Regions from separate parts of the Homo sapiens genome. Here region 1 is linked to region 2. Evidence: promoter capture Hi-C in 16 types of primary human blood cells and fetal thymus (Javierre and others, 2016). All regions are on one chromosome and are shown on one strand. The core of a region is centred on a gene start or on the middle of the fragment in contact, and the rest is flanking DNA. Distances in the headings are between cores, read along the strand shown.

Region 1 (5,885 bases), core at 349-2,848, 650 kb after region 2:
TTAACTCGTCATTTAGCATTAGGTATATCTCCTAATGCTATCCCTCCCCCCTCCCCCCACCCCACAACAGTCCCCAGAGTGTGATGTTCCGCTTCCTGTGGCCATGTGTTCTCATTGTTCAATTCCCACCTATGAGTGAGAATATGCGGTGTTTGGTTTTTTGTTCTTGCGATAGTTTACTGAGAATGATGATTTCCAGTTTCATCCATGTCCCTACAAAGGACATGAACTCATCATTTTTATGGCTGCATAGTATTCCATGGTGTATATGTGCCACATTTTCTTAATCTAGTCTATCATTGTTGGACATTTGGGTTAGTTCCAAGTCTTTGCTATTGTGAATAGTGCCACAATAAACATACATGTGCATGTGTCTTTATAGCAGCATGATTTATAGTCCTTTGGGTATATATCCAGTAATGGGATGGCTGGGTCAAATGGTATTTCTAGTTCTAGATCCCTGAGGAATCGCCACACTGACTTCTACAATGGTTGAACTAGTTTACAGTCCCACCAACAGTGTAAAAGTGTTCCTATTTCTCCACATCCTCTTCAGCACCTGTTGTTTCCTGACTTTTTAATGATTGCCATTCTAACTGGTGTGAGATGGTATCTCATTGTGCTTTTAATTTGCATTTCTCTGATGGCCAGTGATGGTGAGCATTTTTTCATGTCAAGTACTCCACTTAGTGTCAATATTCAAACATTTTCCTAGAGAAGCATTAATGTGTTTGAATACTGTCCTCAGACCTTGCTGTGGGTATACATATATTTTATTTATTTGTTTTCTTTTTCCTTTCTTTTTATTCACTTTTTGTGGGGGGTGGGGAGGCAGATTCCTGGTGAAAACTGGAAAATGTACTAGACAAATTCTAAAAGATCTGTAACACTGTGGGTATATATTGAGACAGTATGTAAACAACAGGGCAGTCACACAGGGCCCTACACTTAACAATGACCCTGCACTTGGCTAAAAGCTCTGCTGTGGCATCATGAAATCCTTAATAATTTTTTAACAAGATGCCTTGCTTTCCCCACCCCCACCACAGAGCCCTGTAAATTATGTAGCTAGTCCTGAGTATAAGCACTACAGTACAGTAGTATAAGCACTACTCATAATATCCTCATGGTATCTAATATATCTACTACTATATAATACTATAATATTATAGTACTGTATAATATTATAATACTATAATATTATACTACTATATAATAAGTATACAGTAGTATACAGTAGTATAAGCACCACTCATAACTTTTCTGATTTTTCTAAAATCAGAGAAGTTACGAGCTCTGAAACACATCTGACCCTAGGGCTTTGGCTAAGGGACCTATGTTACTACACTACCAGTATTAATTCTATTGTTACTAACACCATGGATTGAGTGCCTCCTGTAGGCAAATGATTTCCTAAGGACTTTACAGGTGTTAGCTATAACCCTGTGAGGTACATATTATGTTATTCATTTTTTTTAATTTAGTAAAGTGAGGTTCTGAAAGTTACCCTAAAGTTTTAAGATCACCCAGCTAGTAAATGGCAGAGTTGGAATTCAAACTAAGGTCTGCCTGATTCTAGAACTTGTTTAATATTCTAGGAGGTAGGTGCTTTGGAAGTATTAGGATGAACCATGAAATTGCCAATATCCAATCATTTTACATAGAAAAATGGCGATTTCATGTGGCTCAACTTAATATGAATGACTACTTATAAAATATAATCTCCCTCTATTTCATTTATGGGTGTTTTTTAGTTTGAAACGATGACCAAACTAATCCTTTTGCTAAAATGTAAATAAAAGATTGCAGTGAAGTCAGAAGAAAAATTTATGTAGTTCAATTTAAAACAAGTTGCATGTCTCATCCTGTCTCACTAGAGATGACATCACTGCTCCTAAATAGGGAGGATGGATCACATGGGAGAACTTGTTTTTATTGTGATCAGCTGCAGGCGATCAGCAATATGACCTCATCTGCAGCTGAGGGGATTTGACCTTTGCCCCTTTAGGTATGTGAAGCAGAAAAAAATCCTTCACAGGCTGAGGAATGCAAAGCAGACAAGCATCTTCAGCCAGCAGAGTTTATCAAGCATGTGTTCAGTGCAAATGCTCAGACTTGGACATGATGCAAAAGCAATTAAGAGAAAGAACAGTGAGTAGCCTGGGAGTTGGGTGGGTCCCTTGGTGTTTCTCAGTAATACTAGAAAAATATGTTTTTCATTTTCGAATAATAAAAGATAAGAAAGGGGCCTTTAAAAAAAAATGCTTCTTGTGCTAAGTTACCATAAGCAGATGATAGAATTTAAGTTCTTATCATAACCAGTTTCCTGTGAGAATATCTTAGATGTAATCAAGTCAGATCTAACAACTGATCAATTTAACTGGCTAGTTTTAAAAACAAACTCTAAGTAAAACATGCTCTTCAGCTGTATTTTTAAATTGATGCAGTGAAAGTGACAGTTGGACAATAAAAGCCCAGGTTATCCACTCACAAATGTCTAGGAATGTGTGGAAAATTAACGAGATAAGTTGCTTATTGTGTATTCTTTCCTCGTCCTGTTTATATCTACTTAACTCCCAGACCGAAAAGCTCACAGTGTTACAGATTTCCTTCTGTTCAAAAACTCCTTATTAACCAGAAATTGCTTAATATTTTAGGGCTTTGACATGTATTATTTGATGTAGCACTCATGGGCACCATGATGAGGAGCTCTTAAATCAGCTTAAGAAAGGTGAACTACTAAGATCAAAAGAGTGTTCCTTTTTCCTGGTGAGTAATTGTTAATGAATATCTTCCAAATCAAACACCTTGCAAGAAGCAGAGTTTTTGTATTTTACTAGCAACAAATTGGAGAGATGGAAGCCCTCCAAAAGAGTTCTAGAATGCTGAAATATGAAACGTAAAAAAAATTTCATCCAGGTTAAAAAGGCAGTTTATTATTCTAATTTTCAGCTGCACAGTTACCCAACTTAAGCCAAGTCTTTTCACACTTCCTGAGTGATTTTTATCTTACCTACTGCTTCCCACTTCCCAAGTGGGAAGAAATCTCATTCCCTCCAACTGAGAATCTGAGAAGACCAATTGCTTTAAAAAATGTAAGAAAAATGGCTGATGATTTAGGCAGTTAGTAGTATAATTATTTCTTCTATTTTTATTGTTTTTGTGATACTAGAAGTAGTCATTTTCATGTTTATCCAATATCTTTGAGGTCCAAAGTGAGGTGTCAAATTTCACAAAAACTTTATATTTCAGCAATATTTTTGGTGGGTAGATTTTCAAAAAGTTTTGCTTGGTTATCACTCAGTGCACTCAGAAAAATAGTCATTTACAAAAGTAAACATCAAGAGATAGTGAAAAACTTGATGAAAGAAAAAGTATTATATCCTAATGTCTACCACTAGGTGAATGGATAAATAAATTGGGGTTTATCCATACAACAGAATTCTACTGAGTATCAAAATAACTGAACTATTGATACACTCAACAACAGGAATACATCTTGAAATAATTATACTGAGTGAAAAAAATTCCCTAAGACATTTTGTGTGACTCTTCCAGTTTATAAAATTCTTTTAAAATGCAAACTAATCTTTAGTGACAGAAAGCAAATGAGTGGTTGCTTGAGAACAAGGAGAAGAGGCAGGGAGGGACAAGTGGAAGGTATTACAAAGGGGCAAATGAAGCTTTTGCAGGTGATGAATATGTTCTTTATCTTCATTGCAGGTAATGAATATGTTTGTTATCTTCATTGTGGTGAAGTTTTTTAAGTGTATACATATATCCAAACATATTAAATTTTATACTTTGTGCAATTTAGTTTATTTCAGTTATATTGCAATACAGTTTTCAAATCTTTAAATAAAATTAGGCATGAAAAAAAGGTATTGTAATTTGCCTTAAGTCACAGGTCTAGGTCACGGAGGAACAAGGACTTGTAATTAGCTGTCTGAAACTAAAGTCAGCAAGGAGGAAGAAAAGATCATTCTTCCAAATGATAGGTTTGCCAGTTAGAGAGGACTCCTTGACTAAGGAGGTTGCCTACTGATTATGTGAAAGTCAAGAATGTTCCAAGAGGGAAGTCCTTTAGAGGAGTGTTACTAGTTTGGATGATTTAATGTGAGGGCCAGTCTTACATTTTGACCAGTTTTCTTTGCAGGGCATCTAAAAACATGATGACCTTGATTAATCAGAGAAAAATAAATATGATTTCATATTTATTTTGAAACTGGCTTTCCTCAACCAGTTTATGGGTACTTAGTAAGTCTTCAAGGATTATAAAATAAATAGGTACTTGGAATATCTTGAAAAATTCTGGGAGAATTCTTCACATTCTTCCGAACTACTGGAAAAAAAAAATACACCAGGATGATGATTCCTTAGACCAGGGTTTTTCGGCTGCAGCATTATTGACATTTGGAGTTGGATACTTCTTTGTTGTGGGTGACACCCTGTCCGTTATAGGATGTTTAGCAGCACTCTTGTCCTCTAACCACTAAATGCCCAGAGCACAGTCCTCTTAGTTCTGACAACCAAAAATGTCTCCAGACATTGCCAAAATGTCCCTTGGAGTACAAAACTACCCCTGATTGAGAACCACTGCATCAGAATCATTGTCATGTTTGAGAAAAATTCAGAAATTGTAAATAAGCAAACAACTAATTTAGAGAAGAAGGGTTGATATCATTACTAACAAAAGAGCTCTTACAAGCCGGTTAAAAACTATACTGCTAGAGAGAGAAACATAAAACAAATAATAACTTCTAATATTTCAAATTAGCTTGCCACTGGTAAAGAGCTTTAAAATTTACATTACTTCTAAGCTGGGTCCTCTTTGCTGCTTAGTGGGTTCGGCAAACATTCTCTAATTTTATTGCCTACCTTATACAGCATTTCAGCCTGTAGTTTCAGCTGATCATTTCTCAGCCAATATACATCTGGTAGCATTGGATCTTTCCTTAGCTTTCAAACAATAGTAGCCATTGTCTTTAAACAATGCTTATGGCCCATTATGAAGTGGCCAGTTGTAATAAATGTATCTCAAACGTTAGTACAGAAAAAGTGCATCACACTTGAAATCATCTTGTTTCCATCAATCAAATAAACTCAGTTTCCATTAATTAAATCAGATGCCATTCTGATTTAAACTAGGCAGCAAAAAACCCAGAACTAAAAGAAAAGCTCAATGATATAATCAAGCTATTTGAATGAGTATGAGTGGTTGTAATAATATTCTCATTCTGTGATTATAACTTATTTAAATATAAATATTTATTGTGTACATGTATACAATGTAAGCCACATTAAAACATTTGGGAAAGAATATAAGGGTGTAAATAATGAATAAATTAATTAATTCATGATCTTTTTTCTTAAAATGACAATAGGTAGAAGTTCTGATCCTAAGAAAAAGAAACAATGCAAATGTTTGGAGAAGACCTCTAAATCTGGATTCTTCAAAGTAAAATTTGTATGCAAGGCCATTGATAAAAGATACATTGTATATGTGATAATTTCAGACCCTTCCACAATGCAGAGAAAGGATTTATTTGCATGCTAATGTATGCCAAAGGATAAGTAATTCCTCCCCTTCTTCTCCTTCTACATACTGGTCACAAAGCTTAGATTCAATGTCAAATAAATTTGAAAGCTGGTACTCGAAGTCACTGCTGGGGAAGAGAAAAGCTTTATGCCTGTAGCTGGGCCCATGGACAAAGCCAAGGATTCAGTAAAGTACTGAGGCTTACATTCCAGCTGTGTAATCATCTCCCTCTGTGACCTCGGACAAATGATTATGCTTCCATTCTTATTTCTTCATCTGTAAAAAATGACAAGAAAAGTTTGGAAGGGGAGATCTCAGTGTTCATACTCAAACTATAGATCAAATT
Region 2 (5,483 bases), core at 2,750-5,249:
TGGAAGTGAGCCCCAAATAAATAGAGGACACCGAAGGTGAATTGTCAGGTGTGTGTTCATATTTTACATAGTCAGCTAAAGTTGTTGCTTTTGCTCTTATCCTACATTGAGAAGTTAGAATTCATTATTTTTATTTTTATTGATTACTCTGTGATCAGTTTTGGTGAACACTTTTTGTTTTATTCACTTCAGTTTGATCTGATGCAATTTCAATGGCTTCATGAATTTGAGTACACACGACTTCAGGCTTGTAGACATTCTAACCTTGTGTGACTCCCTTTAACCCCATTCCTGCAAATCTGCTTGAGGAAAAACTATGAAGAACCTTCTCCCTCAAACAACAAATGGAGTTACTAAAGTGATAGAGGGATCTCTCATTAGCAGCTTTTCTCTGTTTGTGTTGAAATGTGGTTAATGCTCATACTTCTCACTCCTTATCTCTCTAGAAAGGGGAAGTTTAATAGAGCTATAATTTAGTAGTGTGGGGTGTAACCTGCTGTTAATATCTGCCAGGTCACTGGAAGATCTTCTTCATTATATTCTTAGCATTTTGTGACAACTTTTGAACAGGTTCTTTAAATAAATGTGTATTCCCAGATGCTTTAGGGATTGAGATATCCTTTTCACACAATGCTAAAAAGAAAGATTCTCTAAATTCCAAAGGGCATTCATTCTCCCCTTAATTCTCCTCTCCTCTCCTTTTGGTTTTCTTTTCACTCAATAGTTAGACCAGTGCACCTTTCACAAGAATACACTCAAGTTTCAAGATCTGTACCTTCTTTAACTTATGTACATGTATGTTTATAGGGGTCTGGTTGAAGAGAAGGAGGTCAAGGCAGAAACACCTAGCTCCCAGAGGGTTACTTGGAGGACCAGAGGTTTTAGGAAATACGGTGTGTCTCAATCTGTCTGCAAGTTTCCATACCAAAGTGAGTAACCATGGATAAGGAGTAAATTGCTGTTTCTAACTTTTAACTTACAAATAAGCACTCAACATTACACTTTTCAGGAGACTTAGGGTTGGTTTTGTTGACGTGACCCATCTGTTAGTTAAAAACATGTTTTAAGGAGTTTTTTATTTTAACTCATAGTATAGCTTTTAGAATTATGACTAGCAAATTACTGTGGGTTTTTAAATATGGGGCAAACCTGAAATCATTTTCATCATTAGAACCAAGCTGTTCTTTTCTGCTAAAGAAGGAGGGCTAAGAAGAAGGGCATAGTAGAGATGGATCTTATACTCTCATTGATTAAAAAACAACAAACAAATAAAAAGACAAGAGCAGACATGGATTTTTGCTCTTCCCCATCCCCTCATGTTCACATAAATGAGGGTTGGGAGAAGTTGCGTTTCGTAACAGAGCTCCTAATCTTGCTTTTCTCCTAGGGCACTTCTGTGATTCCTCCAGCTTCTCTTTCAAGTCCCTTTTCACCCCAATCCTCTTCTCCTTGATTTTTATTTCATAAATAGGAATAAAGTGGCATATGTTTTCTGATCATGAAAAGGATATCATTTTATAATTTTGACAGTAGTAGAACATCTAAAATGCACATTTCTGTAGGATCAGCAAGCCCTCAAAATCAGTAGAGCTCCCTTCTTGTGTCTCTAGTGAAAGCGGCAGCTTCTCATCTTATCTTTTCTGAGAAACATTAAGAAGTCCTCCCAAGTCTGCCTCAATGGCATTGGTTGGGTATAGTCATGGACTTGATCAAGAGGCAGCTATATAATGGCAAAAAGAGGAGACTCACGTGAAGTATCCACATCCCATGCAGAAGGGGAGATTTGGGGGCGACTACATGAAACTTCGACACTGATTTTTCTAAAAGCTTAAGAAGAGCAGTGTCATCTTGCTTGGTATGTACCCTATGGAGAAAGGATAGCTTTGCTCCTGGGAAACTTAGATCATGAGCAATCTAAGATGATCTCACTCAGTTATTTAGGGGCTTGAACTTGATGGGACATAGGGAAGGCAGTTACTGTTTAACGGTCCATAGCTGGTCCGGTGGATTAATTGCCAGAGAAAGCAGAAGTAAACCCTTGGAGAATACTTTTATCCCCAAACTTAGGAATAACTGGAAGCTCATTTAAACTGGGAGCATTTCCCCCTCCACCCCAAGAAAAGATAACTTCCCTCAAGGGGATCTGGTGAATGAAGCAGCGTATTTTCATCCTTGTGATAATGGGTGTGAGTCAGGCACTACCATAAAAGAAGAATTAACTTGAATGTGCCACATACTTGGTCTGGCCTTGTCCCATACCTGTACTCTTGTCATGGTTGATTACCTATGTGCATCAGATATAAAGCAAGCAGTCTGCATTGTGGCATGAGATAAAAGGTATGTTAATATGCTCAGGTCACATACTATCTTGGCCAATAGTAATTTTATATAATTTGCTTAAAGGAAACTGCACTTCTTGCAATATTTTTTTCCAATGAAGAAAAATTTAACGTGACAGAAGCTTTATATATAACTCTTGCATTTGAGTAACAGCATTGAATCCTCTCCATCTCAAGCAGAACTTTTAAATATTTTTATTACTTTTGATATGCAAAAGCTAAGGAGAAATGGTTTGGAAGACCTAAGTTAAATTTCTAATGAGTCTTGTTTCTTTAATAGGGGAGAATTTCATACAGCTTCGGTGAGTTTTTTCTTTCCACATGAGATAATATAAACAAACAAAAAAATAAAAAAGTGAAACATTTCTCTTCTTACTTTAAGAACCTTAAGGGCTAAAAGAGTGGTTTGGTTTCCTGACTGGTACTTTTGGTTTGCCTTCTCTAAGTGGTCTTGAGCAATTCCCCAGAGGAAACATTTGAAGAGGGTTTTTCTCCCACTTGAGAGAGTTTCATCCCACACAACCCACAGAATTTGATGGCAAACTTCATGGACCAAGTGTCTGGTTTTACAGAAGTGGCTGTGGAGTATGTTTTTCCTTTCACAGGTGCACATTTATTCTACCTTAGGAATAAGAAGAGATCATTTTCTTTTAAAGAGGGTAGCTTAAACACTGAATATCTCTGATAATTGGATGCCAGTCAGGTAGGTTGTGATTTACTAAATGCGGGGGAAAAAAGGTGGAAAGAAGGATTAAAACTTCCAAAGCCTTTCTCGCTGATCTTTCTTTACAACCATCTGGTGTGCACAGAAGTATTGTATAATCTGGCCTGTATTATTCTCTTACTGTGAAACATATTGAAACACTTTATGTTTAGGTGTGTGTACAGAAATTCATGAAGTTCTTTTATACACTTTCTTAGTTCCATCGTAATTCTCATTTTAGGATGTCGTGAAAAGATAGCCTGGTGAGAGAGCACATTCTACCCTGGCTTGTGAATTTGGATTTGTTCCTTCCTATCTACCAGCCACCTGATTACTTACTGTCCCCGTGCAAAGGGCACCCGTTCACATCATTTTTTTCCAAGCGCTAAAACCTGGAAAGATATTTTTTTAAAGGACTCACAGAAGCTGTCTTGGGGGTTTGGAAAACATCACAAAATTGTTAGCAGACCTTTTGACTGTGCTATTTTTAGGAAGTTAACTGTGTTCTTTTAAAGTACATTTTTGACAATGGGACAACGTTTTCCTTGCCCCCACTGATGTGTGAAATATGTACAGTGAAAAACGTCAGTACAACACCCCAAACAGATACATTTTAACCTAAGCAACAGTCAGCAACAGGAGAAAAAGTGATTTAAAAAGAGAAAGGTTTCGCAATATTTATGCTGCTGTTTCTTCCCTGAAGGAGCTTTTATTTTACCATTCAAACAGAAGTTTGTTTTCAAACCAGTTGCTAGTTAAAGGAGCAGCGGATCGCGCATCCGTAAGAATCAGCTCTAACCAAACAGCAAACGCGTTGGCCAGAGGGTGACTTATTCCCCCATAGCAACCCCTGGTAGGTGAGCTGCCTGCAGAAGTGCTGTCTTACCTTGAGCACGTAAGATCAGGGAGAGAGGCTCGCTGGCTCCCACGGAGAGGATCGGGGAAGGGCTGTGATCCGCTGCTGGTAACATGCACTTGGCTTTTATGGGCAGGTGGGAGGAGCTGCTCCTCATAGTAGGTGGGCAGGGAAGGAGCGGCGGGCGGGCAGCCTCTGGAGGAGCTGGACACTCTTCTCTGGGGAGGGGCGGGCAGAGACTGGAGCCCGCAAGGCGGAGGAGAGACGACGGGGCGGGGGGAGGGGGAGCGCGGTCACAACGGAGGAAGGAGTGGAAAAGGGAGAGAGAGGGAGAAGGGAAAAAAGAGAGGGAACTAGAAATAGTGAAAGGGATCTTGACCACAGATGGGGAAAGGTGGGGGAGAAAATGAATAGCAGAGACAGAGAGAGAGAGAGTGTCTGGGAGGAAAGGGGAATCGGAGTATTTTCCGTTTTTGCATGACATTTTTTGGCAGAGGGAGTTGTGGGTGATTGTGACTTTTGAAGGTGTTTTCTGTGAATTTGGGAATTTGAAAAGCTACATAGCGGTCCGGGAGAACTGAAGGGTTTCTAAGCGAGGCAAGGGAGGTGAAGCTGGGCGTCCGGGCAGCAGAGCCAAAGTTCAGGGTGGACCCGGACCTGGAGCTGGAGGCACTGACATGGCCTGGAGCCAGGCAGCCCCCAGCCCTCAGCCCCGTCCCACCGCCCGCGGGTGAAAATCGCCCCATCCCTCTCCCTCCAGGCAAGGCTTATTTGACAAGGAAGTTCCTGCGCTGCCTGTCCTCTGAGCATCCAGAGGCCCCTTTTGAGACTTCGGCAGCATTAAAGTAAATCCAGCAACGGGGAGGATTCGCGTGGACTTGCTTGTGGAGACAGGAACCTCAGAACCAGCCTGGGTCTTCCAGCATCTGCTTATGTAACGTAGGATTTCAGAGCTCTCTGCCCTCTGGTTATTTTCGGTATTTAAAACACTCTCATTCCTAACAATCGGAAAACGTCTTGGTGCCACAGTTCTTTCTCAGTGTGTCTTAAACATTAAGAGAGGATTCAACCAACAAGTGGCTAAAGGATCAGTCTGAAATTACTAAGAAATGCATTCAGAGAAAGAAAAACAAGCTCCTTTCGCTGCTGAGTGGTGACTCACTTCCTAGCCCAAGCCTGATTTTTGCCACCAAAGGAATTAAAGCATTTTAAAAGAGAACCTGAGACTTGGGGTGGGAGATACAGTACCGGGAGGGGGAAAAGGCGGGAATGGGAGGGGGGAGGGATGGGTAGGCTGGAAATAATAAAGGAACGAACTTGTACTGAATATGTATATATGTACTTCATTCAGTGTTCACCGCAACCTTATGAGGTAGGTATGATTCATATTGTGCAGATTTATTTATTTTTTTTTTAATTTAAAGAAAGGCATCTCTAAGGGTTTAAATAACTAGCTCAAGCTAGCGAGAGGGGGAGCCACAGCTAGCGAGCTTGCAAACCTTAGGCACTCTTCAGTACACCAGGCTGCCGTATAGAACACCTAGGTTCGTCTCAGGTTAGATCCTGATGTCATTGGCTGGTAGCA

The links. The method cuts DNA at HindIII sites, captures the fragments that hold promoters and counts their contacts. A CHiCAGO score of 5 or more calls a contact.
Region 1: a fragment that was not itself captured here is called in contact with the fragment with the promoter of COL8A1 in region 2 in 2 of 17 cell types (total CD4 T cells and M2 macrophages); the score reaches 6.4 in total CD4 T cells.

Annotation. Positions count from the first base shown.
Region 1 is chr3:98,982,394-98,988,278 of GRCh38, reverse strand. It overlaps LINC00973 (long intergenic non-protein coding RNA 973), which reads right to left. Exons shown (of 3, transcript NR_186665.1): 2 at 5,745-5,815. It overlaps LOC124906343 (U7 small nuclear RNA), which reads right to left and starts at 892; the gene lies at 830-892. The HindIII fragment of the contact is 4,175 bases long and covers 1-3,685 here.
Region 2 is chr3:99,637,110-99,642,592 of GRCh38, reverse strand. It overlaps COL8A1 (collagen type VIII alpha 1 chain), which reads right to left and starts at 3,999. Exons shown (of 4, transcript NM_020351.4): 1 at 3,929-3,999. LOC124909401 (a long non-coding RNA gene) reads left to right here and starts at 3,913. Exons shown (of 2, transcript XR_007095981.1): 1 at 3,913-4,006; 2 at 4,659-5,225. The HindIII fragment of the contact is 3,484 bases long and covers 2,464-5,483 here.